Regions from separate parts of the Homo sapiens genome. Here region 1 is linked to region 2. The links are contacts of gene promoters, found by promoter capture Hi-C in blood cells and fetal thymus (Javierre and others, 2016). All regions are on one chromosome and are shown on one strand. The core of a region is centred on a gene start or on the middle of the fragment in contact, and the rest is flanking DNA. Distances in the headings are between cores, read along the strand shown.

What was found. Contacts are between HindIII fragments. The CHiCAGO score rates a contact against its expected background, and 5 or more counts as called.
Region 1: a contact is called between a fragment that was not itself captured here and the fragment with the promoter of RSL1D1 in region 2, in 4 of 17 cell types (neutrophils, naive CD8 T cells, naive CD4 T cells and 1 more). The highest score is 7.9, in neutrophils.

The regions. Positions count from the first base shown.
Region 1 is chr16:11,403,818-11,406,517 of GRCh38, forward strand. LOC400499 (putative uncharacterized protein LOC400499) reads right to left here. Exons shown (of 67, transcript NM_001370704.1): 48 at 887-1,049. Among named protein-coding and RNA genes, the nearest start is that of RMI2, 60 kb to the left of the region's middle. The HindIII fragment of the contact is 554 bases long and covers 1,118-1,671 here.
Region 2 is chr16:11,850,126-11,852,825 of GRCh38, forward strand. It overlaps RSL1D1 (ribosomal L1 domain containing 1), which reads right to left and starts at 1,417. Exons shown (of 9, transcript NM_015659.3): 1 at 1,283-1,417; 2 at 154-293. The coding sequence starts at 1,387. RefSeq lists enhancers at 579-1,778, 1,551-2,085, 2,086-2,619 and a silencer at 1,347-1,533. The HindIII fragment of the contact is 5,793 bases long and covers 1-2,700 here.

The DNA.
Region 1 (2,700 bases), core at 145-2,644, 450 kb before region 2:
TCAGCTCCCCTGGCACCACAACTGCCCAGGGATGCCACCTCTTCCACGCCCTGGCCCCTTCTCCCTGCCCGGCTGCACTCAGGATAAGCCCCAGCTCCTCTCTATGAGCTGAGACGCTGCATGACCTGGGTCCCCCAGCCCTCCTGCCTCGCCTCATCCCTTCTCCCCATTCCAGCCATGCTAGCCCCGCAGCTGCTGCTCCACATGCAAACCTCATTTCCAAGTGGGGCCTTCCGCCTGAAGTGCCTCTGCTCAGATCTGCCAGCTCCTTCTCATCCTTCAGAACTCAGTTCAGAAGTCACCTCCTCCAAGAGGCCTTCCCAGACCACCCCACCTAAAGGAGGCCCACACCCCACAAAGACCCTGCTTGCTCTCACAGCCTTTCCCACTCGTGGAAATGGTCATGCTTGACGTTATTTTGCTTATGTGCATCTTGTTGCTCAATGCCTGTCTCCCTGAGGGGTGACACCTGGGCCATCTTGCTTCCTGATGGACCCCTGGTGCCTAGATTACACCTGGGATATGCAGGTGCTCAGTCATGGCTTTTTTGAGACCGAGTCTCACTCTCGCTCAGGCTGGAATGCACTGGCTCAATCTCGGCTCTCTGCAACCTCTGCCTCCCAGGTTCAAGCGATTCTCCTGCCTCAGCCTCCCAAGTAGCTGAGATTGTAGGTGCCTGCCACCATGCCTGGCTAATTTTTGTATTTTTAGTAGAGATGGGGTTTCACCATGTTGGCCAGGCTGGTCTCAAACTCCTGACCTCGAGTGATCTACCCACCTCGGCCTCCCAAAGGGCTTGGATTACAGGCATGAGCCACCGCGCCTGGCCAGGGATGATTTCTTGAGTGACTGGGCCACCCCTGCCTGCAGCCCCTCACACACTCACCCTGCAGGCTGAGGTTCCTGGTGGGCTTGGGGAAAGGCCCAGAAAGGCTCCCGGTGAGGGCCACCTCCTGGCCATCCCACAGCACCACCTGGCGCAGGACACGGGTCCCATGAGCTCGCTCGTATGCGGTCTGCAGGAACAGCTCCCTGGGAAGAGCGCTGAGCTGGAAGAGAATGACGGCGTCATGGGGGAACCCGACCCATGCTTCTGCCTGGGATGGGAAAGAAGAGAAGCTTGCAGAGGAGGAAAAAGGGAATATTTGTGGATCATTTACAGTTTCCTGAATGGTGACATATGTCAGGGGATCAAAAACCCAAATGCTTCCTAAGGATGAGCAGATAATTTAAAGGAGAGGAGTAGGTGAGGGGAGTATGGCCAACAGGAGACAGCACAGAACAGCCACTTCTCAATTCCATGGCCAAGCTGTGTGGCTCTGGGCATTTTTCAACCTCTCTGAGCCTCAGTTTCCTAGAAAATGGAGGCCAGAAAGTGTCAACCTTTGCAAGATGATACAAGTGGTGCACTCAGCCCAGGGCTACACGGTGGAGAGGAGCTTGTAGGAGGCACGCAGTTGGTATTGCGGTTTCTCAATCATGTAGCGAGCAGGTATCATGCTCCCAAGCCAGTGCTGAGTGCCTGGGTACAAAGCTAGCCAAGACCTGGTCCTGGCCCTTAAGGGGCTCCCAGGGAGATAGTCGAGATAGTCACAGGACAGAAAATGATGGGATAAGGTGACAAGGATGGTCACAAGAGACATTCAAGGGAGAAAGGAACGCAGAGAAGCAAGCTTGGGGAGGAGGCAGGGAAGAGCATTCTAGGCAGATGGAAGAGCCTGTGCAAAGGTTCGGAGAGGGACGCCGTCCCTGCTGGTGGGTGCCACAGTCCGAGGGTGACTTGAGGGCACTGCAGGGGGACTGCTGGGGTGGGGAAGGAAGTTTGCTCTTAAACGTCTCTAAAACCTATCACTACTGCCCCCAGCTTGGTCCACGCATTATTATTGCCCTGCCCCTGCCCATTATGGGGCTTCCTCACTGCTCACTTCTGCCACCTGTAGGTCCCTCCCCACACAGCAGCCAGAGGGATCTGAAATCATCATTTATTTGATCATGGCTTCAAAGGCTTCTAGTAGCAGATAGAACACAATGCAAACGCCTCCCTGTGGCCTGACTGACCCTGTGTGATCAGACCACCTCCTACCATTCCCCACCCACCCAGCTCCAGCCCAGTGGCTCCTTGGCCATTCCTAAAACATGCAAACCCATCCCTGCCCCAGGCCCTTTGCATGTCTTGTTCCCTCTGCCTGGAATACTCTTTTTAAAAAATGTATTTTAGATTGAGGGGGTCAGTGTGCATGTTTGTTACATAGGTATATTGTGTAATGGTGGGGACTGGGCTTCCAGCGTCCCTGTCACCCAAATATCGAACATCATACCAGGCAGGTAATTTTCCAACCCTTGGCTCCCTCTCACCCTCCTCCCTTTTGGAGCCCTCAGTGTTTACTGTTTCCATCTTTATGTCCATGTGTATTCAATGTTTAGCTCCTGCTTACAAGTGAGAACATGTGATACTGGGTTTTCTGTTTCTGAGCTAGTTCACTTAGGATAATTGCATCCCTGCTGCTGCAAAGGACAGAATTTCATTCTTTTTTCCGGCTGTGTAATATTCCATGGTGTATATATACCACAGTCTCTTTACCTGCCTCGAATGCCCCTCCCCCAGAGATTTCTTTTTTCTTTTCTTCCTTTTGAGATGGAGTTTCACTCTTGTCACCCAGGCCGCAGTGCAACGGCGCAATCTCGGCTCACTGCAACCTC
Region 2 (2,700 bases), core at 167-2,666:
CTCTATGGTTCTTTTGGACATAGTTGTTTTACTTCACGTCAGATTTTTATTATAAGTTTGCAAAGTTTCCATTAGTAACCATGATGCAATTGTTCGAGTTACAAAGAATAAACACACAGATAAAAACAGCAAAGGTAGAAAATCACAACTTACAATCTGACCCTCAGTTCTTTACTTGGAATTTTCCATAATACCACCATTAAAAATAAACTTTCATTCTCATTCAAAAGCAACCCATAATTGTTTTTCCTGGACTTGCAATGCGTCAAGAGAGCGTCCACTGCCTTTCTAACCTGCAAAGTGGAAATTAGACAAATAAGTGAAATGTTTTCACAATAACTTACACAAATAAATGAAATGTTCTCAATCTAATTTAGCATTTGCCCCCTCCCACACCTTCTATTTTTTCCCTTCCAACTTCTATTTCAAGGGGTAACCTCCATAACCGTATCTATTAGGATCCTGCAGTTTATATTCACAGAAATCTAAGAATCCATCAAACATGCCTAAGTACCCACTTCCAGTACTGTGTGCAGAAGGGCACCTCTTCTACTTAAAGAGATTGGGCTAGAGGGAAACGTGCCCCTCCTGCCCTCAATGATGAAAGCAGTAATCCCAGGAAAAACGCAAAGCAAAATGCATTTAGCATTTACTGAGAACTCCTGGCAATTCTCCTGCCTCAGCTTCCCGAGTAGCTGAGATTACAGGCGCCCGCCACCACGCCCACCTAATTTTTGTATTTTTAGTAGAGACGGGGTTTCACCATGTTGGCCAGGCTGGTATCGAACTCCTGACCTCAGGTGATCCACCCGCCTCGGCCTCCAAAAGTGCTGGGATTACAGGCGTGAGCCACCGCGCCCGGCCTACTGAGCACCTTCTTACCATGTACCAGGCCAAAGCGCTTTACACTCATTACCTCTCCCGATCCTGGATAACGGGGAGCCGAAGGGCCCACTTTAAATAACGGGTAACAGACCTGCAAAACTAAGCGATTCGGTCAAGCGCTAATGATAGGGAAGCTAAGCCAGGTCGCCAGGTCTATCTCATCTAGCTCCACAGCACACTTGCAACCCAATTCACTAGCGCCAGGCCGCAGGACCAGGGAAAGCAGGCGCCCACCCACGTGTGTAAAGGGGAGAGACAGCTGAGGCACACGGCCCGCCAGCGACCGTCCCACAGCCCCGGGGAAGTCCGCCGAGCACGCACTCGGGTTCCGGCACCCTGCGCCTCACGAGGTAACCGCCACACTGCTTCCAAGCCACCCTCCCCAGGAACCACTCACCTGTTCTTTATCCAGCTGCTTCCGTGCTGTCGGGGCCGCTGGAGTCGAGGTGGAGGTTCCAGTAGCGGCTGCAGAAGACAGCGAGGCCGAGGCCGAATCCTCCATCTTGTTTCCACCTCGTGAAGAGGCGCGTGTGCAACCCCACTGCTGGCTTCTGGTGCGCACGCGCGAGCAAGCCCGGCCCCGGAAGCGAGGGGGCGGGAACCGAGCCTCTGTGCGTCATTTCCGGGAGAGCGTGGGGTTTCGCTCTCCGGGGCAGTGGCTGCTGTCAGAATCCCTTCTTTGAGGAGGCACCTGCTCTTCCGCTTTTCTCCAGCTTTCCATGAGCTGTGGGGAGTAGCTTGGGTGTCCTCTCACTCTTACTAGATAGAAATCAAGAAAGCGCCTTGAGGCGAGAGAAGAGTCCCGTCAGGAGGCCCAGTGGGGTCCTCCACACTCCACGGTCCCCGCCTCCGGGAAGGCCGCGCGTGGCATGGGCAGAGCGCGGAATCCTGGCTCCACTGCCCACCTGCCCGTTGACTTTAGGCGACGCCAACCCCAGGCTGGTGAGGAGTCCCTGAAATATAAGGCACGGGAGCCACCCGGAGCCACCCGACCTGCCACGTTAAGCAGCATGAGGGACCGAAAGATGAGTCTGGGCCAGTCTCTTAGGAGCTTCTGGTCTCGCAGAGAGGCGGGAGGTAAGATCCTGTACAAATAAGCGTGGCTGGTCGTGCGCGTGGCTGGCGTCTGGAATCCCAGCGCTCTGGGAGGCCGAGGCGGAGGGATTCCAGGAGTTGGAGACCAGTCCGTGCATATACGAGACTCCGTCTCTCCAAAAATTATAAACATTAGCCGGCGTGGTGGTGCGCGCCTGTAGTCCCGGCTACTTGGGAGGCGGAGGATGGAGGATCTTGAGGAATTCGAGGCTCGGTGAGTTCTGATCCGCGCCACTGCACTCCAGCGTAGGCAGTAGAGTGAGACCTTGTCGCTAAACAAACAGGTTAGGAGTGGAGGCTGGATAACTGACAAATGGAATACCTTAGAACAGGGGAGTCCAATCTTTTGGCTTCCGTGGGCCACACTGGAAGAAGAATTGCCTGGGCCCATATATAAAACTAATACTAATGATAGCCGACGAGCTTTAAAAAAAAAATCTAAAAAAAATCTCGTAATGCTTTAAGGAAGTTTACGAATTCGTGTTGGGCTGTATTCAAAGCCTGGCCTCCAGGGCCGCACGCGGCCCTTGGGTAGGACAGGTTTGCTTTGTAATGTCTTCCTCCCACTCCACCCGCCTCCCCAGAGGTACCCTTACCAGTGTCTCCTGGAACCTTCCAGAGATGTTCTAGGCATGTTTAGGAGATACTTCTCCTTTCTCTTGTTGGATGGGTTTAATTAATTTTTTTCCTTTTTTTTTTTTTTTTTTTTGTAATGGAGTC